Linked DNA regions of Homo sapiens: all the other regions are linked to region 1. Evidence: promoter capture Hi-C in human tissues and cell types (Jung and others, 2019). All regions are on one chromosome and are shown on one strand. The core of a region is centred on a gene start or on the middle of the fragment in contact, and the rest is flanking DNA. Distances in the headings are between cores, read along the strand shown. Region 1 holds the start of HTRA1 (HtrA serine peptidase 1). Region 2 overlaps HTRA1 (HtrA serine peptidase 1). Region 3 overlaps PLEKHA1 (pleckstrin homology domain containing A1).

Region 1 (3,330 bases), core at 483-2,982:
CCCAGTTCGGCTCTGGCATCTTCCCGTCCACGTAAGCCAAACTATGCTAAGCCCTAGTTGGTCACACCGAACCATATTCCTATAAAGTAAACTCTAGACCAGTCCCTCTGCACTGTGCTCCCCTATGCCCCTCTCCTGGCACTGCCCGTGTTGAGGAGGCAGCACTGGGGTCCGGCAGCAGCGGCACGGCTGCGCCCAAGCGCACTGCCAAGCCCCGCTGTCTGGTTCCTACAACGCGGGGCTGGCCGCTGCTGAACTCGATATTATTTTTCCACATGGCCTCTGCCTGAAGATGAGGAGCATCTCTCCGGAAGGTCCCGCGAGAGAGTTAGACATTGCTCCATTCCACTCCTTCCCCCATCACCACCGTCTCCCCTGCCAGAACAGGTCCTGTGTGCGGCTGTAGGAACAGAGGGGTAGACTTCTTCCTCATCACTAACCCGGTCCCTTCTCCGCCTCTGCAGATTTCGTGATCCAAAGCCCGATTCAGCTTATTCAAAAGGAGCCACTTTCATTTTTGTAGGGCTGGCTCAAAACGAGGAAAGCAAGACAGGCAGCAACGCCGCCGAAACGAGAGCGGTGCCAAACCGTTCCCTGCTCGGGGTAGACTTTTTGGAGAAACTCCGGGGCGGGCCGGCAAACACTGTTCCTTTCCAAAAGAGTTACATACAGTTTTCACTGAGCGGTCCCGTGATCAAAGCAGTGAATTTTAAAGGGGACGGAGGACGTAAATAGAAGAAAAAGCAACCGAAATGACTTCTTGTGGTCCTGAAGCCGCTCTGCGAGGCGCCAATTCCCAGTCCTGAACTTCTCTCCTTCCTTTATGCCCCCATTCCTCTTATTTGTCCTGGGGTCCCCGCGCTGTGTGGTTGCCCTCAGGGCACTCCATGGCCGGTCGCCCGGCGTCTCGAGCCCCAGAGTGCAGGCCGGGCGTACTGGCATCGTCTGGGCGCAGAACCGGCCCCGGGCTGGGCGCGAAGCTCGGTTCCGAGGCAGCCCGCGGAAATCCGCCACCCCGGGGCCCACCTGCCTGTCCCCGAGAGTTGCCCTGGCCACCCCACAACGCTTCGCTGCCCCTCAACCTGCCCACCAGTCCCGCAGAAGCAGGTCCGAGCTGGGATGGAGAGAGTGGGGAGCTGCCCAGGAGCGCGGCGGAGTACCTTGGCCGCAGGCTCCGCGCTGCAGGACGATGACCGGCGGCCGGTGCAGCCTCTCGGAGCGGCGGCTGGCGGCGCGCAGCTGGCACAGGTTGGCGTAGGTGTTGGCGTCGCTGCCGCACACCGGCTCGCTGCTGGCGCACACACAGAGGCCGGCCTGCGCGCGCCGCCGCACCGTGGCCGAGGCTGGCACCCCGAAGGGCACCACGCACTGCAGCCCCTCGCCGCACGGGCCCTCCTGCAGGCCGCACGCGGCGCCCTCGGGCGCGCCGCACACCTCGCAGCAGCCGCACGCGTCCCGGGCCCGGCCGCCCTCGCAGTGCTCCGGCTGCGGCGGGCAGCGCGCCGGCTCGCAGCGGTCTGGGCACCCGGCGGCCAAAGGCGCCGAGCGGCCGGCCCGGGACAGCTGCGCCGAGGCGGGCGCCGCCAGCAGCAGCAGCAGCAGCGGGAGAAGAGCGGCGCGCGGGATCTGCATGGCGACTCTGGCGGCGGCGGCGGTGGCGGCGGACAGGGCGAGGGCCGGAGAGCGGCGCCGGGGAGAGTGCAGGAGGGCCTCGGGGGCAGCGGGTGCGAGTGCGCGCGGCCGCGCGGCCCAGCCCATTGGCCTCGCAGCGGTGACGAGCCGCCTTGGGGACGGGCACGGCGCCCGGGATGGGGGCTGGCCGGATGGCGGGAGGGAGGGCGGGCGGCTGGACCGGGACCGCCCGCGGAGGGGGCAGGGCGGGCGCGCCCGGGCACGGCGGTGCTGGCGGGGCGCGGGCGGGGCAGCGCACAGGCCGGCCCTCTCGCGGGACTCAGTTTCCCCGTCTGCGCGCCCCACATATTCGCTTTCCGCAGGTTCTCTCGCTGAGATTCGCGTCCTTCAAACTAATGGAACTTTGCAAGGGGGCCCTGCGGCGGCTTCGCGTGGGAGCGCCGGGGAAAGTTCCTGCAAATCGCCGGACTGGGGGCCCGCCCGGGAAGCTCGGACTGGGCCGGGCAGGGACTGCAGGGGCCTCTGCGCAGACCCGGGGCGTTGCGGCACCGCGGACCCCGGTCACGCGCTGGTTCTGCCCCCGGTACCCCGCACGCGGGACCCTGACCGCGGGGCCTCTGCGGCCGGACGAAGGCAGCGTCCGCGGAGCTGGCAGAAAGCCCGCGCCCAGACCCACAGTGAAGTGATAAAAGCAGAGAGCAGAAGTAATTCGAATAGAATCCTTCACACGTCTGATTCTTTTAAAAAGTTGTTGTGGGTGGCATGCGTGTCCGTATTCGCAGAGAGCCTAGGAAGCGGCTCGGCAGCTCGTAACTGGCGAGGGTGGAGCGGTCTCAGATGGGAAAGGGGTTTTCCCCTCTTTTGATTTTTCACCAAGTGCGTGATTATTTCAAAACACTTGTTATCAAAAATTTGATTTCCCACTGGAGAATCTTTGGTGCATCCGTTGGGACAGATGCGAGTCCGAGAGTCATCAGGAGGGCTGAGGGCGACCCTGGAGGTGGGTCTGGGTGCCCAGGCAGCACCAGGCCTGTGGGCAGTAGTCCTGGGTCCACACTGAGCAGATGGGCACAGCTCGTGTCCAAGGACCTGAGAGGAGGCCCTTCGTCCAGCCCTCATCCCGAACCCTCAAACCTCCACCCCCACCCTGGGCAGAGGCACCCAGGGTTGGGTGAGCCGGCAGAGCTGACTTTGGGATAGAGTAGCATGGGAGGGGGCTGGGGGCTTGGGGATTTTAATATTCTTCTGTATTTGGGTTGTTCCCTTGTGCACACGTTATTTTTCCAATACAAATAGTTTAAAAAGTAAACTCCAAATACCTATAAGCCCCCTCAAAGCACCTTCCAAATATGAACCTTGTTAATGCCCAAGGTCCAGAGGGGTCCCCCAGAAAGGCCCAGGAGCCTGGGGCATGGGAAAGCTGTCGGGGTCCCCATGCTGACTCCCTGGACTCCAAGCGATATTCCATAAAGCCAGGGCCTCCTGGCTGCGGGAGGGAGGCCTTGACCCAAAATCCATTCGGCCCTGGATACTGGAGAGGCAGAGGCCTCTGCTGATGAGAAGCCCTGAGTTCCTGGCTAGCTGTGGTTAACCACAAAAAATGCGGGGGGTGATGATTTTCGAAGTCCATCGGCAAAGAAAGACTCCCCACTGCAGTCCTGGGGCAGATGGAATTAAAAGGACACGTGGTGGTGAATA
Region 2 (3,615 bases), core at 769-3,268, 40 kb before region 1:
GCTGGCCAAATTCCTACTCGGTAATTGAGCATTTAATTCCATAGCTGTCTAGACATCAGCTCCATGGGGGAATGTGGAAGAGATGCAGCACAGATATGGCTGGAAGTGCACAGCCACAGGCGCCGTGAAGCCCCGCGGGGCCCACGCACTCTGAGTCCAAGGCCTCTGCACTGCTGTCCCCAGGCTGGTTCCCGCGCCACCCACAGCAAAGCACCTCTGAGTCTCCCTTTAAAGCGGCACCGGCCACAGGCCGTCTTGAAGGTGGCAGCTCCTCTCCTTGGCCACTTCACCATCTCCCTGGAGCCCCACAGTAAGCCTAGAAGTAAACAGGGCAAACATCTGTCCCCCACTGACGGATGAAAAGGCCAGAGGGAAGAGGAGAAGAAAGAGGGCACGCGAGTCCCACTCCTCATGCCAGATCCTCACACTGCTGGGGGGAAAAGAAAATGCAAGTGTGGGCATGACTGCAGTGACGGGGCAAAAACAACCCATGCCTGCTCTCATAGAGCCCAGGCGGAGATCTCAGGTCCCCCTAAAAGATCTTGTAGCTCAAGTTTGGTGCAAAACCTTTGGGGACGACAGTCTTTCTGCAGTGAGCCCAGCACAGGCCAGTTCTCACAATCTCAGGAGCAGGAAGCCTGGGAGGCCAGAAGAAGAGAGGGGGCATCTAGAAGAAAAACGCCCACTGGCCCCCAGCCTGCAGGGACTCACAATGCTAAATAGTGTCCTCTTAACAGAGCCAGAAGTCTCTCAACAGAGGGACTTTAGGAAGACACAAATCCTCTAATGTCCTAGACGGCCATCCAGGTAGATGTAGAAACAGATCCAGTGAGGGTGTCAGAGTCCTGGCCATGGGCTCCAGGTCTCCCCACCATATCTATGTAAATTGCAAAGTCCTAGCCATAGGCAGGATGCTGACCAGGTAGTGGGAGTAATGCTAACACCTTGGAAGAGGCGGCCCACAGCATGATTAAAGATGGCTCTTAGTGTTCATGCATATTACAACCAACAGACAACAACAAGCAGCATCGTTTCACAAAACATTGCCTCCGTGAAAGAGAACTCTCTCAACAACCATTCAGTGAGTGTCTCCTATGAGCTTGGTGCAGGGAACATATGATTAAGAAAATCTGCCCTTGCCCTCTCGGCTTTTGTCTCATGGGCAGAGACACAAACAAGCCACCAGGACACAGAGCAGTAAGAAAACACAAAGTCCACCTCCCTCACCATGGGCAGCTCAGCCCAGAGTCTTCCATAAGGGCCAAACACAGACCAGCACTAAAAATAGTTTGTGTGTATCAATTAGGGTGTTTTCAACTGCAAGTGACAAAAAAAAAAAAAAAAAAAAAAAAAAAAAAAAACTCCAAATGGAGTATGTAGAGTAGATATCTGTCCAAGGGCTGGGTGGTACCAGGCTGATAACTCAAAGGCTCACAGACAGCATCAAGAACAAGGCTCCTTCCTTCCCTCCATCCAATCAACCTCAGCCTGTTCTCACAGCCACAAGACGGCCACCACCATTCCAGACATCACATCAAGACGTGACTGTGTCCATGACCATGCTGTGGAAGCATCTCTCCAGAAAAGCAAAGTCCCAAAAGCGCCCTGGCACCCTCCTCCTCGTAGGTCATCGGCAGTATCCAATCAAGCAGCGACCTCAGCACTCGTTGGAGGAGGGAACGTGGCTCCCCTGACTGCATTGGACCCTGCGAATTTGCCTGAGTCAGGAATGCGGTGGGGTCAGGGTTGGAACTAAAACAAACCCAGGGCTCTGCCAGCAGGGAAGGAAGTTGGAGGGTGGGCAACCATGAGTGTCATCCAAAGCCTGGGGAATATGGTTCATTTTAAGAGAGGATCCCAATACAAGCACCTAACAATGTTTAGAAAAGACTCTACAAGTCCATACTCCCTCATGCACATTTTTGTTTGTTTGTTTGCTTGTTTGTTTGTTTGTTTGGCAGGGTGGAGCAGGAGATGTCTGCTAATCTGCTTAAAAGGAAAGCAATGGTCACAGCAGTTCCATGGTGGTGACAGGCAGGTTCAGGTGATGGGAGCAGAATCTGGGCAAGGCAGGGAAATCACTCCCACGGCGCGTGTCCGGCATCTTCCCAGAGCTTCTCCCGCTCTGCCAGGTATGCAGCCTTCACGACCCACCACCCTGTGGATGGGCAGGATGGCTTCATAGCCGTTCTGCTGATGAGGGGACTGCAGGTCCCACAGCAGGTGGGGGTGGTACCGGGACTGGGACCCTCCCTGACCCCAACCTCCACTCCAGGTGTTCTTCTCACCAGCCTGCTCCCCACCTCCCAGATGCTCAGGGCACACAGAGGTCAGCGGGGAAACAGCTGCCCTTGTGCCCCGGATCACTCCACAGGGACAGGGGACCAGAGAGGGTATAACACAGAGCAGGGCAAAGGGGAAGTTTAGGAAGAACCCAAGCAGGGGCCCACCACGGGAAGGGAGGGGAGGTCTGTGCACGCAGCCTCGGTTTTGGGGGCACTATGTGTGGTGTGAGTTCCATAACTGAACCACAGATGAACCATAACTGCTGGAACTCCCCCAGGGCAGAAAAGTTGGGCCTGTGCTGAATGAGGCCCCCAGGTTGACAGCGCGCCTCAGGCTCATTCTCCAAGATCAACCAAGGTGGGGCAGAAGTGAAAACTTAGGCAAAACACCTATGTGTATATGCATACATGCACACACACGCACACACATTACCCCCTCAGGCTCCACGTATGCTGAGAGAACACTGTCCCAGACAGTAGGACATCTGGGCTGGGTCTTGGTCCTATATGAACTCAGTCTACAACCTTGAACCACTTGATTAGCTTCTCTGGATTGCGGTTTTAGCACCTCTAAAATTAGGGAGTTGAGCCCAGTGATCTCCAATGGTCATCTCAGCTCTGACAATTAGCTATTCTTTACGGAAAACCTGGTTGCTTTCCAAAAAATCCATTAGCAGACAATAGTTAAATGTAAGTAAGATCCAAACAGGCAACAGGGTCCCCAATAAATCCCCTTTTTCATACAACTCCCCAATGGGGTCAGATGATCCCCGCAAACTTATACTGCTGCAAGAGGAGGGGGCGTTCCTAGAATTCTCCAGATGCTGGCTTGGCCAGTAATCTTTCATAGAGGACTGTGAAAAGCAATGACCCATCGGTATTTCAGCTTCCTTCCATTCAGGGTTCTGCCTAGTAGCACTTGAGTGCTCATTCAATCTCATTCCCTGAAGCTTGGAGAAAAGAAAAATAAAAAAAAACCAATAACATCAAAACCAAAGAAAAAGTTGGCAACTCTTTTTCAACCTAATAAGCCAAGTCAATTACTTCTTTCTCTCCTTTGAAAATTACTAAGTGCTCTTGAGTTACAAAAATATTGTTGTTGCTGAATCTGCAGAATCCACTGCATCATTTCTGGAGGCTGGGACTTCTAGGCTGGTCCTGTGTTGGTTCAAGTTTGCTTCAAAGGCTAACATTGCAGCAACTGGCTGGGACTCAACTGAGTGATTCAATGTGCCTTCTGGAAACAGTTATGCTAACCTTTCATTTTCTTTAAAAAATATGCAATGGACAAAATAGCACATCCTCCATACCCAGCAAGAAACAGTGCTAT
Region 3 (3,602 bases), core at 365-2,864, 50 kb after region 1:
CTATCACGTAATGAGTGCTTACTCGGGCAGGTACTAGTTCACACATTTTTCTCCTTTACTACTCCTGTCTACCCTATGCATAGGGGCTCTACCCCCACCTAAGAGGTAAGGAAATAGGCTCAGGGGCATTAGGGAATATAGATTCAGATCCTGACTATAATACATTCTAGCCAAGTGTGTGTAACTCTTCCAAGCCCAACTGCTGTGCTCTAGACCCTGTTTATTGGCACACTTACTATTGGCTTACAGCTCTTTGCTGTTTTCTTCCCTTTCTCCATTCCTACCCATGATTCTGGGATTGTGGCATATTCAGTCTTTCCTGGCTTCAAGACAGAGACTATTACCAAAACCATAGTGTATTCAATAAATGTTGAAAGACTCAATGGATGAATCCAAAGTCAGCAGAAAAAAGAATAGCAAAATTCTTAAAACAAATCAGAAGTTTCAAAACAAAACTTTTCATTAGAAATTTAAAGAAGGAATTCCAATACTTGGATCAATGATAAATCGTTCACAAGTACAGGAAAACAATGACTGTGGTAACAGCAGAATCTCACATTAACACCTCACTAAAGTGGATGAAAGAATCAGAGGTATCATAAATTTTTAACATATATTTTTGCTTTTCTTATGTGATCTATTCAGTAAATAAGGTACTCAGTTAATCATTATTTCTATCTGTAGACTGTTTAGCACATAGTCTGTATTTAAATTATACATTTTTAAGGCTGTGAATAAAATGTAATAAAATCTGCTCAGCATCAATTATAATGTTGAACATGATTTAGTCTTCTCCAATGATTTAAAGGGCACGTGGAACCTTGCAGTCTTTCAGAAACACTATGACAAATACTACTGACAATCACTGAAGTAGTGGTGTAGAAACATTTAACTTAAATAGTTTGCTTGTCATATAGCTAATTCCTGTTAATAGAGTACTGGTAGAACTACAGGACACCACTCACATTGTATTCAAAGGCTCAAACCGTTTATTAGTGTGATTCCAAAGCAGTGTGATTTCTCAAACTTTAGAGTGCATAAAGTATCACCCAGGAACATTATTTAAAACTTCAGATTCCCCTGCTTCGAACCCAGAAATTCTGACTCAACATATCTATAGTGCAGCCCAAAAACCTGCACTTTAAGCAAGAACACCAGACATTTTTGAGGCAGGAGTTTCATAAACCACACTTTGAGAAACACTGCTCTAAAACCTGTGCTCTTCTTCCATACGATGCTACTCCCACCAGATTTGTAGAAAAGAGGGTATACAATGCAGATAAGGATTTGCAAAGCAGCTTTCTGCAAAATATTGAGCAAACATGGTCCATGTGTATATGAAAGGATGCTGAGCTACAGTAAGTCCCAATCCACACAAATGTAATTTATGGATATAATAAATGACTTGTCTCTTAAGTGACTTCTAAAACTCCCTCTCCCTTCCTTCTCCACCTGCCTCCCTTGAAGAGGTTTCTCTCAGGCCCCAGGCCCAATCCTCCAGCCTCTGGTTCGTATTCATACTACAATGCCCTCATCCGCAGAAACAAAAGAGAGAGAAAACAGGAAAGAGAAGAGAATCCTGAATACCTCTTGAATTCTTCTAAGAACTTGCACACTTTGGAGTGCTTTTTAAAGACAATAAAATAATGAAGAGAATTTTCCTTGTCAAATAAAATTAGGATAGTATACCCTGGAATGATTTGCTAGGGAAGCCCATTATATTTTCTAATGAATAGCACCATATATTTCAATTATTCTGACAGAGAAAATATGGCCCAGTTATCTCATTGAGAAGAACAGCAACTAGCATTAAGAGAACCTGAAACCAGAGAGAAAACAATCTATTCAACTAGATAAAATGAGAGGTGCTGCTAAGAGGTGACCCATAAGAAAACTAGCAGTTATTCTCTCAAGAAGTTTAGTCAGACCTGGGAATTATTAGGAAAAACCTTTAAAATCATTCTAAAAAATACCGAAATTTATATTGGTTTTTCCATTTTTCTTAAATTACAGTATATTAAAAGTCCTTGCTTATGCTGTTAAGCTCACTGCTTCTAATTTGTCTTTATAATAAAATCAAATGCTAGTAGTTAACTTAGAACTGCATTTTACTATAAAAATTATCTAACTTGTAATCATCTTATTCCCTAAGAACAAGAAAAGTTCAAGCAAAATACCCATGAACATGGATAACTCCTCTAAAAACAATATGTACCTCTGTAAAACTTGGTCTAAATTCAGCCATTAAGATAGACATTTTCAGGACACACCCCTGCCCCAAACCATCCAACTGTCCAATGAAAATCAGAAAAGTGATCTCACTGGGCAGTTGGCACATGTCAGACACTGAATCCACTTGGTTTCTTTGTCTACTGCCTCTCTCCCTTTCCTTGGCTTTCTATCCTTTTTTATGTCCCAGCATTTTTTGTAGGAGATCTGAATGTAATCTTGGCAGGCATTTGCATGTGATCCTAGTAGTAGGAAATTCTAATAGTAGGAAAAGAAAAGGTAAAAATAACTAGAGAATAAAAAGATGAACAAGACAGATTTAAGTATTTATGAGTGAAATACATAAAAACGCTGCAGGTTTCTCAAAAGTTAAAGGGAAAGTTGATATTCAATTCACCAAGAATGAAAATATAATGTTGGGCTAGGCGCGGTGGCTCACGCCTGTAATCCCAGCACTTTGGGAGGCCAAGCTGGGCGGATCACTTGAGGCCAGGAGTTTTAAAACCAACCTGGACAACATGGCGAAACCCAGTCTCTACTAAAAGTACAAAAATTAGCTGGCTGTGGTGGCACACACCTGTAATCCCAGCTACTTAGGAGGCTGAGGGCTCAAGAATCACTTGAACCCCGGTGGCGGAGGCTGCAGTGAGCTGGGATAGCACCACTGTACTCCAGCCTGGGCAACACAGCGAGACTCTGTCTCAAAAAAAAAAAAAAGGATAAAAAGAAAGAATGAAATTGTCATAATGTTCAATTCACTGAGGATAAAAACGTGCAGACACAAACTCCTGGGTCTTACAATCTTTCTGAGAATTCTACATCTACTTGTTTCCAGTTTCTATTAAAAATATATCAAACTTGTGGAGTTTCTGCCACAAATTCAAAGTACTAATTTTTAGATTCAAATCGAACATTTATTTTTAAATTTTAAAAAAGACATGTTTAAAAATAATGGATCTCTGTTCAGGAATAAACCATATATATCTTAGACATTCCTTAATAATCAATAAGGGAACAGAAACCACCATATTTATGTTGTTTCCACTATATTTCCACTATATATATTTCCACTATAAATGAACAGTGGAAAGCATACTTTAAAATTTGATTTTCCTCACTCCAGTCATTGATACTCCCCCTTCGGGGCTGATTCTCCCACTGTTGCTCTTTTCCTTTTTGTGCGTATGTTTAATACAGATGGTCCAGGACTTACAATGGTTCAATTTTTCAACTTTACAAGTGGGTTTGTTGGGGTATTAAATGGATTTTCAACTTGTGTTTTTGACTTACAATAGGTTTATAAGGATGTAACCCCATCATAAGTTGAAAAGCAACTGTAAAGGGAAAAGAATTTCAAGTGGCACCCACCTAGA

What was found. The method cuts DNA at HindIII sites, captures the fragments that hold promoters and counts their contacts. A contact is called where the count stands out against the background at its distance.
Region 2: a fragment that was not itself captured here is called in contact with the fragment with the promoter of HTRA1 in region 1 in 4 of the 25 tissues and cell types used here (bladder, dorsolateral prefrontal cortex, hippocampus and 1 more).
Region 3: a contact is called between a fragment that was not itself captured here and the fragment with the promoter of HTRA1 in region 1, in 1 of the 25 tissues and cell types used here (hippocampus).

The regions. Positions count from the first base shown.
Region 1 is chr10:122,459,955-122,463,284 of GRCh38, reverse strand. It overlaps HTRA1 (HtrA serine peptidase 1), which reads right to left and starts at 1,732. Exons shown (of 9, transcript NM_002775.5): 1 at 1,161-1,732. The coding sequence starts at 1,632. It overlaps HTRA1-AS1 (HTRA1 and ARMS2 antisense RNA 1), which reads left to right and starts at 1,880. Exons shown (of 3, transcript XR_946382.3): 1 at 1,880-2,336. The HindIII fragment of the contact is 7,877 bases long and covers 1-3,330 here.
Region 2 is chr10:122,499,708-122,503,322 of GRCh38, reverse strand. The region is part of intron 3 of HTRA1 (HtrA serine peptidase 1); the gene reads right to left. Among named protein-coding and RNA genes, the nearest start is that of HTRA1, 40 kb to the right of the region's middle. The HindIII fragment of the contact is 4,731 bases long and covers 1-3,615 here.
Region 3 is chr10:122,409,129-122,412,730 of GRCh38, reverse strand. All of the region lies in intron 5 of PLEKHA1 (pleckstrin homology domain containing A1), which reads right to left. Among named protein-coding and RNA genes, the nearest start is that of MIR3941, 6.0 kb to the left of the region's middle. The HindIII fragment of the contact is 5,773 bases long and covers 1-3,602 here.